Regions from separate parts of the Homo sapiens genome. Here region 2 is linked to region 1. Evidence: promoter capture Hi-C in 16 types of primary human blood cells and fetal thymus (Javierre and others, 2016). All regions are on one chromosome and are shown on one strand. Each heading gives the region's core, a stretch centred on a gene start or on the middle of the fragment in contact. The rest is flanking DNA. Distances are from core to core; before and after follow the strand shown.

Evidence for each region. Contacts are between HindIII fragments. The CHiCAGO score rates a contact against its expected background, and 5 or more counts as called.
Region 2: a contact is called between a fragment that was not itself captured here and the fragment with the promoter of IL2RB-AS1 in region 1, in 1 of 17 cell types (naive CD4 T cells). The highest score is 5.3, in naive CD4 T cells.

Annotation. Positions count from the first base shown.
Region 1 is chr22:37,164,826-37,169,877 of GRCh38, forward strand. IL2RB-AS1 (IL2RB and C1QTNF6 antisense RNA 1) reads left to right here and starts at 1,934. Exons shown (of 2, transcript NR_199008.1): 1 at 1,934-2,139. It also overlaps a transcript of IL2RB not described here. RefSeq lists enhancers at 2,105-2,154, 3,469-3,528. The HindIII fragment of the contact is 5,870 bases long and covers 1-3,001 here.
Region 2 is chr22:37,205,395-37,210,446 of GRCh38, forward strand. It overlaps SSTR3 (somatostatin receptor 3), which reads right to left. Exons shown (of 2, transcript NM_001051.5): 2 at 1-2,445. The coding sequence starts at 2,409. The coding sequence ends at 1,153. Among named protein-coding and RNA genes, the nearest start is that of SSTR3, 4.6 kb to the right of the region's middle. The HindIII fragment of the contact is 4,892 bases long and covers 367-5,052 here.

The sequences.
Region 1 (5,052 bases), core at 684-3,183:
GGTAACTCCTCTAGCCCTTACTACGCACCAGGCCCTATTCTAAGTACACATGTTGATTCCCGACTATGCTGAAGGCAGTTTCAGGTTCAAGAGCATCAGCATTCCCTGAGAGCTGGTCAGAAATGCAGATGCTCAGGCCCCAGCCCAGCCCTCCCGAGCCAGAATCTGTATTTTCACCACGTCCCCAAGCAACTCGAGTGTGCACAGAAGTTTGAGAGGCCGCATGTTACCTCAGTGAATCCTGACAACAGCACTTGCAGACTAGGACTCTTATCCTATTTTGCAGATGAAAAAACTGAGGCACGGGGAGGTTAAATAACTCGCCCAGGGCCGCACACAGGTAGGTGATAAGTGTCAGAGATGGGATGTGGGCCTGGGCCATCTGGCTCCTAAGCACATGCTCCTAACTACCAGGCTGCCGCCACCTTTGGAAGAAGAGAGCCATGAGAATTTGAGCTATGGCTGGCCGCATCTGTGCCTGCTCTGGCCGTGTGCCTCTGGCCTTCCAGAACCCACTCTGTCCTTCCTAATGTTTCTCTGACCGTGGCCTCTCCAGGGAGAGTCTGAATCATGATTTTCCCAGGCATGGAAGGTAGGAACACCTGCCAGTCAGCATGGAGCGTTTGTCAAGCGTCTGTATTATCCTGGCTCAGGGCTGGGAGTTATAGCAGCCACAAAAGATGCCCAAGACTCCACCCAGCCCTCAAGGAGCCCAGAGTTTAGCTGCAGGGACAGGAAATAGGCATGGGAACGAATGCAATATAATCACAGCTAAAGTTTGTATGAGATGTGCAGATGCTCCTGGGCAGCTGCCTCTTCAGGGCAGGCTTCATGGAGAAGAGGGCTTTTTTTAAAAATTTAATTTAATTTAATTTAATTTAATTTTATTATTGTTTGTGGGGTTGGGGGAGGAGGGGAGAAGAGGGCTTTGAGCCAGGCCTACCCAGGGCAAGTGCCAGAAGGACAGAGGCGGGGAGGACACAGGTGCAGACCGGCCTAAAGCAGACACTTGGAGCTGAAAACATCCTGAATCCAACCGTCCACAACTCCCCTCTACAGCATCTCCTCAAGAGGGCCAGACTCCCCTGAATTCTCCCTACGGCAAGGAAGTCATTCCTCGCCAGGGGAGCGAGATCATGGCCTGTCTGGTGTGCACGTGTGTGTGTCTTTGCCACAGGTGTGTTCTTTCCAGAACTCCTGTGAACAGGTGGGCCTCCTTTGTGCAAACCTGAGCCATGCACATCCAGCTCAGCTGATAGCTGGGCCAGGAGAGGTGACCTCACCGCCCATGCTCAAGGTCTCTCTGTTGCACTGGACAGGGCCCCTCCAGCCTTAGGCCCTTGAAGTCCTGGCTCCTTGGAAATGCCCCTGCTACTGGGGGGACCCTCAACTGCACCAAAGGACCGCAATGGAAAGGGGGCACTCAGCGCCAGAGCCTCCCCGCCCCCCCACCTCCTGCCGAGAGGAAGCCCAAAACTGGCACATCCACACACACAGCCACACGCCCCCTTTGAAGGCACTGCACCGCTGCGTGTGTTGTACACGGAGCCTGCGCTTCCTGGGCCAGAAGTGAAGCTAAGATGCACTCCACGCATTCAACCGTTGAACCCTCATTGCAGCCACCAGAGTTCTGTGCCACCCCTGCTCCGTTCCCGCGGTGGAGGGAGGACGCCTAGGCCTTGGGAGGGATCGGGAGCGCGTAGAGTGACACCCTGGGCTCCACATCCACGACACCTTCTCCCCCATCTGGACTGCCCAACTACTTCATGCCTACCTCGGGACTTTGCATGCAAAAGGCGCTCAATCATCCCTTCAAGAATAATTGAGTTAGAAAACAGCAGGGCACAATGACAGGTGGGCCCAGAAGTTGCCACCAGAGGGCAGTGCGCGCACCTCCCCAGCCTCCTCGAGACTTGTGCTGCAGGAGGGAGGTGAAGTCGCGGCCAGGAGCGTGACCACGCTGGACCGTGTCTGCTGCCTCCCCGGGAGTCGCAAGTGCCCACAGGACAAGCAGGGGAAGCAAACTGGGCCCCTGGCTTCTGGGAAGACAGCATGAGGGCAGACCAAGGAAAGGCAGCCGAGACCAGCAGACCTGCAAGGGATCTCGGAGGCTCTCAGGCCCAGCTGCTTGCTGAATAGGTAATGATGCATCTGGGCCCAGAGAGAGGCAGCTCTCAGCCTTAGGTCACACAGCAGGGCAGGAGTGTGAACTCTGGCCTCCAGCCTCCGAGGTCCCCTCATCCCACCTAACCCCCAGACTCAGAGAAGGACACTCCACCCAAGCAATTTCTCACCTTCCCCTTAATTGGTACAGATCAGAAACGGGAGCACCTCCTTCTCCTGGCCCCCACGTTTAGGGTTCCCAGGACAGCCTCCGACCCACCCTCTGCCCCTCCTGTATCCCTTTCCTCGGCCCTGGGTGACAGCACCCCTGCCCAGACCAGCTCTGACTGCCTCCAAGTGCCAAGCGCTCACAGTCCTCTACCCCCAGCCCCAGCCGGCACCCTCAGTCTCGTCCCACCATCTCTCTGCCTCCTGAGTCCCTCCCTGAGTCCCATGCCCTCTGCCCCAGCGACTGCCCTTGTAAAGTGAAAATCCGACCCCACCCAACATTTCCTGCTGCACTTATGCAGTATCCAGGCCTCCTCGCCATGGAAAGCCCAGGCCTGCGGCCTCTCTGGCTTCTTCTCTCCCTTGCCCCACTGCCCCTGGCTGTCTGGCAGTTCCTGGAAGTCTCCAAGCTCTTCCCTGCCTCGAGCCCCTGCCCACGTTCTCTCTGCCCCAGGCCTCAGCCTGCGGTCACTTTCTCAGGGCAGCTTTCCCAGCACCCCGTGCATCTAAAGTGGATGCTGCCCTGCCCATCACTGGATCAGGTGCTCATATTCCTAATTGACTGGGCATAGGTGGGAGGATTTGCCTGGTGTCTGTCTTCCTGGCTGGACTGCGGTGCCTCAAGGCCACAGGTGAAGTGCATGGAGTCCCACAGCTTCTCTGAGCCTAAAGCTTTGTGTGACAAATGCATTCAAACTGCATTTATTGAAAGATGGGAAGCAAGGGAGGAAGGGAAGGGGTGCGGGAGGGAGGGAGGACAATCTTGGTGTTGGGCTGAGGTGGCGTCTGTCCCCTTTGCATGAGTTCAGTAAGGATTTACTGAGCACCTGCTGGCAGCAGCATGCTGGGCACTGTGGGAATGACAAGGATGTGTGGGATTTGAACTCTAACTCAGAGTACCTTCTCTTGGTATGGAGGTAGGACAAGTATGCAAATGATTATAACTAAGGAAATCGTGTCAATGTGGTGACCCTTGGCCTGAACTTTCAGAACAGTCCTGGTATCACGTGAGAAGAGTAAATACATGTGATTTGATTCTAAACTGGCTAAGACGTTATTAAAGAAAGTAACAAGACAGAAAAAATACTTTTTCAGGCTGTCTGTGCAGTTTTGTCTTTAGAAAATGTGGTCATAATGAGTATGAGAGGCATAGAGCGTGCCCAGTTTGAAACGCCTGCAAATGACAAAACACAAAAACACAAACCCAAAAATAGAACGTGGCTTGGCTGGAGCCATAGGGGAGGCTCCAGAGGATGTGGCATCGGTGCTGTGGGCAGTGGGTCATTGTGCAAAGGCAGTGAGGGCTGGGTCCCCATCCCACCTTGGCCACTTCCTAGCTGTGTGATCTTGGATAAGTTCCTTTACCTCTCTGAGCCTGTTTCTGCATCTGAAACATGCGACTACTCCCCACCTCTTAGGTTCATGGGGATGGCATGAGATTGTGCACACAGAGAAGCCATCACCCACAGTTCCTGGCATGCAGGAGGCACCTGAGGAAGGCTGGGTTCTTCCTCTTCTCTGGGAGGATGGGGATGAGTGTTCCATAGGCCGGAATGGGTCGAGAGAAAGGGCCCAAGACAGAGGGAGCTGCAAGAGCCAAGGCACAGACTAGGTGGCTGAAGGCAGTTGGGGAACAACAATTATCACCAGAGCCTAATATTTCCCCAGCTCCATCTCCTTCCCTCCACGCCCAGTGCCAGAGGGGCACTGCTTATATAGGGGTTCTGCTTACAGAGGGGTTCTTGCTTACAGAGGGGTTCTGTTTACAGAGGGATGCTGTTTACAGAGGGGTTATTGCTTACAGAGGGGTTCTCGCTTACAGAGGGGTCCTTGTTTACAGAGGGATGCTGTTTACAGAGGGGTTCTTGTTTACAGAGGAGTTCTGTTTACAGAAGGGTTCTTGTTTTCAGAGGGGTTCTTGCTTACAGAGGGGTTCTGTTTACAGAAGGATTCTTGTTTTCAGAGGGGTTCTTGCTTACAGATGGATTCTGTTTACAGAGGGGTTCTTGCTTACAGAGAGGGGTTCTTACTTACAGAGGGGTTCTGTTTACAGAGGGGTTCCTGTTTTCAGAGGGGTTCTTGCTTACAGAGGGGTTCTGTTTACAGAGGGGTTCTTGCTTACAGATGGATTCTGTTTACAGAGGGGTTCTTGTTTACACGTTTACAGAGGGGTTCTTGTTTACAGAGGGGTTCTTGCTTACACAGGGGTTCTGTTTACAGAGGGATTCTGTTTACAGAGGGTTCTTGCTTACACAGGGGTTCTGTTTACAGAGGGGTTCATATTTGTTAGCGGGACGCTGCCATGTCATCCTTCACTCTGCATCCAGAGCATCCTTGCACACAACTCTTCAGGGGCTCCCCACTGCCCTCAAGACCCTATCCAAGCATCCTGAGTCTGGCTTCAAGGCTGTCCCTAACTGGGCCCCCTCTTGAAGATCCCCCTTTGCATCCAATCCTCTGGCCACACAGAACGCAGAATCGCTTGCATGCCTCCCCCTCCTCCCAGGGTTTGCCCCCTCCCTGCCCTGCATGTGGCATCCTTCCTTTGCCTTCTTATCCCGCGGACTCATCATCCTTCAGGCCCCGGGTTCACATCCTCCGTGAAGCCTCCCAGGCCTTTACCCTTGCTTTCTGATGGGGTTAGGTACCTGCCAGAGGCCTTCCTTCTCTCCCCAACTAAAGTGGGTGCTCCCCAAGGGCAGGAACTGAATCCCATTCATT
Region 2 (5,052 bases), core at 1,563-4,062, 41 kb after region 1:
GGAAACAGATCTGTACTTCTCCTTCCCCCTCCTCATCCTCCCCTTTCCCCCTTGTCTTCCTCTTCCTTCTCCTTCCTCTTCCTCTTCTCCCTTCCTCTTCCTTCTCCTCACAGCGCTCTTCAGACACTCTGCCTTTCCATGCCAGTCCTCATGGGCTGGGTCCCTGTCTCGGTCTCCAGGAAGGGAGAATATGGGTCACAAGGAGAGGAACAGGGATGGCCCTTCCTACAAGGAGGTGCCTGGAAGCCCTCAAAAGACCTGGGAACCCCCGGGGGCCCCTACTCCAGCCATAAGACCCAACATGAGCTTCCTTGGGGATTGGGTGGCTGACCTCAGCAGGGGCAGAGCCAGGCTTTGGGTGGCCTAAGCTTATGCAGTTCGAGGTCCCTCTTTAAGAAAACGAATACAAAATGACAAGTACAAAAGTAGATGCAGGGCCTTGCAAAAGCCCAGGCAGTGAGAGACCCTGAAGCTGGACTTCATTCGCTTCCATGAGCAGGAAATTCACCTGCTCTTCCCGTCCAGGAGCACAGGACCTCCAGCATTGACTGCCTGGGCCAAAAGGGTGTAGAGGTTGTTGGGTTTTACCCAGGTGAAGCCTGAGGCCTAGAGAGGAGCAGAGCTGGTCCAAGGCCTCACAGTCGAGGGGAGGGAGCTGATCTGGGGCCTGACCATTTCTGCCCCACTCCTCCCACCGGGTTAGGCTTTCTTCTGTTTAGGTTTCCAGCCCAGCCCCCAGCAGCTCCTGTGTTCCTGACTCTGAGCCCAAGAAATCCTGGCCTTGGTTTATCCCTCTGAGGGCCAAGATTCTAGTTGATGCCCCAAGACACTCCATCCCTGGGGGGAGGCCAGTCTGCACCCACCTTTTGCCTGCTCAGCCAGGTCAGCCCAGCAACAGTGCCCTCCAAACCTCTCATCTGACATAGCTCATCCAGGCTGATGACTCCTATCCCTGAGTCACAGAGGAGAAAACAAGGCCCAGAGAGTAGAAGCAACCTACCCAAGGTCACACAGCAAGACCTGGCAGCAATAGCATCAAAGTCCAGGCCCCTCAACATCCCATCATGGGCCTGTGGCACCTTGGGAAGTAGGCCCTAGGCACACCCACGGCTTCTGCCTCTTCCTCGGGCCATCCTGGCTTTCCCCAGGCCCCTACAGGTAGCTGATGCGCATCGTGCTGGACTTCTCCCCAGTGGAAGCCTCTTGGGGTAGGAGCTGCTGCTCCTTGCTGGCCACTCTGCTGGGCGGCCGCTCCTGCCCGCTGGTGCCAGGCTGCGTGATCTGGCTGACCCGGCCGTTCATCTCCTTCCCCTTGCCCCCCTCCCTGCTCTCCTCCCCATCCTCCTCCTCCTCATCCTCCTCCTCAGTCTTCTCCGGGGGCCCCACAGTGGGCTCCTGGCTGCGCACACGGCGGGAGGGCCGCAGCAGGACCCTGCGGAAGCCCTGCTTGAAGCGGTAGGAGAGGAAGCCATAAAGGATGGGGTTGGCACAGCTGTTGGCATAGGGCAGCGCCACCACCAGGAAGTAGAGCCCAAAGAAGGCAGGCTCCTCGGGCAGTGGGCACACCACGTTGACGATGTTGAGCACGTAGAAGGGCATCCAGCAGAGCACGAAGAGCGCCACCACGGCCACCACCATGCGCGTGACCCTGCGTTCGGAGCGCCGCCGCCGCTGGCACGAGGGTGCCCACACCCGGCGCCCAGCTGAGCGCACCTTCACCACGATGAGCAGGTAGCAGAGGCAGATGACCAGCAGCGGCCCGAAGAAGCCCAGTGCGGCCGTGTAGATGATGAAGCCGGCTCGCCAGGCCGCCGCCGGCTCGGGCCACTGCATGTGGCAGGTGCTCATGCCGCGGGGCACTCCCGAGAAGACCACCACGGGCAGCACCACCACGGCTGAGGCCACCCACACAGCCGCGCTGACCGTGCGGGCCACCGGAGCTGTGCGCCAGCGGGCCGAGCGGGTGGGATGTACCACGGCCAGGTAGCGGTCCACGCTCATGACAGTCAGGCAGAATATGCTGGTGAACTGGTTGATGCCATCCACCGCCATGACCAGGCGGCACATGAGGGAGCCGAAGGGCCAGTAGGACAGGGCGTTCTGGGCGGCCAGGAAGGGCAGCCCCAGCATGAAGAGCTCGTCGGCCAGCGCCAGGTTGAGGATGTAGACGTTGGTGACTGAAGGGCTGGCCGTGTGCCGCAGGACCACATAGATGACCAGCGAGTTACCCAGCAGGCCCACCACGCACACCACCAGGTAGACCAGGGGGATCAGAACGCCACTGACGGCCAGCCCTGCCGGGCTTGGGCCCGCCGACACGTTGCCCAGGGTGGCATCTGGGGGCCAGGCCGAGGAGGCATTCTCAGGTTCTGAGGTCGTGGACACCGATGATGGATGAAGCATGTCCATGGCTGAGGGGAGGGTGGTCAGCAGTCAGCTATTTGCCTGGGGGAAGGAAAAACAGCTCGGTCACAGCAGAGAATGGCTTTCTCTGTGCTGCCCCCTCCCATCATGCCGAACCTGGGGACCTGCTGCACGCCCATCCTCCCATCGTCTGAGAGATTTCAGAAGATGGGAGGTGCTTAGCACGCACCATCTCATTCACCCCGCACAGCCCCGCAAGGCTGAGTCGTGTTATCCCCTTTTCTCAGATGAGGAAACTGAGGCTCAGGGAGGTGAGGTGATCATTCTCCATCGTGGAGTGAGGGTGTGGTGTGTGGCATGAAGTCATACTGTTTCACCAACAAATACCTGCCCTTCCTTTCTACATGTGAGGCCCCAGCTGGCAGGGCCCTGTGAAGTGGGTTGCATTGCCACCAACAGGTCTCGCCCTCACATCTGAAAAACACTGCTTCATATCACAGGACCTTCACCTGGAAACCTGCTCCCTAGATGAACTTCAGAGGATCCATGAACGCCCTAAACTCCAGGTGAAGGTTAATGTCAGATCTGTTATCAGATTCTTCAGGTTCCAAATGGAGTTAAGAACCACAGGCTTGGGGTGTCCCCTCCCCTGGGAGTCAGAGTCCTTAGGTGCCCCCTCAGCCTGGGCCATCCCACTGTGCCCCTCCCAAAGGCCCTGCCCAGGAAGGTTGGCTGTGAACCTGGGGGGCAGGTGGCTGAGGCCCCTTCTCCCCAGAGGCCGGCTGGGGTTGGAGAACTTTACAATTCACTTAGCAGATGCTATCCAAGAGTAGTCCCTCCCCCTGGCTGGAGGGGCCAGCTGCCTGGAAAAGGGGACATTTTCAGAAGGGATTTGCAGCATAAGCAAGAGCCCCCCCGCACTCCAGGTGCTTTCTTAGTGTCTTTCTCATCCCATGCCTGCGCAGAAGAAGCTGGGGCTCCTCTGGGCTCCCCTGCGAGACTCTGATCCCCTCCCCTGTGGAGTCTCCAGCCAGCTTTGGACCCTCCCCATTGCTTTCTGCCCCATCACTTCCGCACAGGCACGAGCTCTGCCTCAGTGTCAGGCATCAAATGAACCAGAGAAGCCTTCAGTGGACCAAGCCCAGTGCCAAGGGGGAATGTCAGGCCCCACTGAGGAAAGCCACGCTCAGGAGGAGGCCCAGGCAGAGCCAGGCTGGATGCAGGAGCCTCCTCTGGGGTCTGGACCACCCACTGCACCCCCTCTTCCTAATGATCCCCCAATCCCCTGGCTCCTGGCTGTCCTTGGATTCTCCCTGCAGAAAACCCTGAAGGGAAGATAAATCTCTCAGAGGAGAAGCCCTTCTTCTAATATCCCTGACACTGGGCCTGCACTTCCTCCCTCCAATGGGAGCTGTGGTCCGCACTGCCCTATATGGATGTCACTGTTGATGTGCAAAGCTCCTGGGAAGGGAAGGCACCCCAAATCCAAACAAACGCCTCTGAGCACGCCTGGCTACCCCTGCCCCAAGGACCTGGGGCTGCAGCGGGCTCAGAGTGCCAGGCTGGGTGAAGCCAAGGGTAGCAAGGAACCCCTAGGCCGTGGCTTCTCCAGCTGGCTGGGTTCAGAGCATCTCCTCCCTGTTCTTGGGGCTGGGAGAAGAGAAGGATTCTGAGCCTGGGTCATCCCCTAACCTGTCCTCAACCCATCCTTCTCCCCAACCCTTCATCAGGTCTCCTGAGCCTGGGACAGCAGCACTAAGGGAGGGGCACCTGGACAGTGGGCTAGAGGATCCTAACAGTGCTGCCAGCTGCTCATCACTGAGCCCTGACTGTGCCAGGTGCCAGGCTAAGCTGGTGAGCTGCAGTATCCTATGATGTCCTACGAGGGAGGCACTACTGTCATCCCCACTGCACAGATGGGGAGCAAACGTGAGGTCACATGTTCTGGTCACAGCTAGGAAGGGGCAAATCTGGAAAGATCTGTAGTGACCACCTCTACGCCCATTCCACAGGCTGGCAAACTGAAGCCAGGCCTGGGAAGGCACCCACCTGAGTGCCCAGCTGGCATCCGCTTTCCCAGTTGCCCCCAGGGCTTTGAGCTATGAGGATCATGGACTCAAAGCCTAATGGACCTTAGAGATCTAAAAATAGAATTTTGAATTCTTAGAACAGGCAGAGAATCTTACAGCCATAGGATTTTAGACTCAGTATCCTTGAATCAGAGAATGTTAGAATTCCAGAATGCTAGAATGAGTCCTTCTTAGACCTGGAATTGTGCAACCTGGAACCTTAGAGTCCTGCCTCCCTGGTAGGGGACCCGCGTCACCATCCACCTTGCTGCCCTGTGCTGTGCACAGATCCTCTTTATAGCATCCCTGCTGGTCAGCCAATCACAAGCCAGGGCTAGATGAGGGAGGGGAGCACCAGGCTCCTGAGAGAAGCAAGGAGCTGGGCAGGCCTAATTTCCAGGCTTCAGGGACATATGCCCCTGGGGTAGCCCGCTGGGGGTAAGCTCTGAGGTTGCCCCACCCCCACGCCTGCCCAGCACATGTCTGTGCACCCACAAGCGCATGCGCTGACACACACATGGTCCTGGCAGGAACACGGCGTGCCTAGCCAGACCCTCCTTTGTACCAGGGCATGCAGTCGCCCCTCCCAGAACCCCTGGCCCCCTCCTGGAAAACCCTG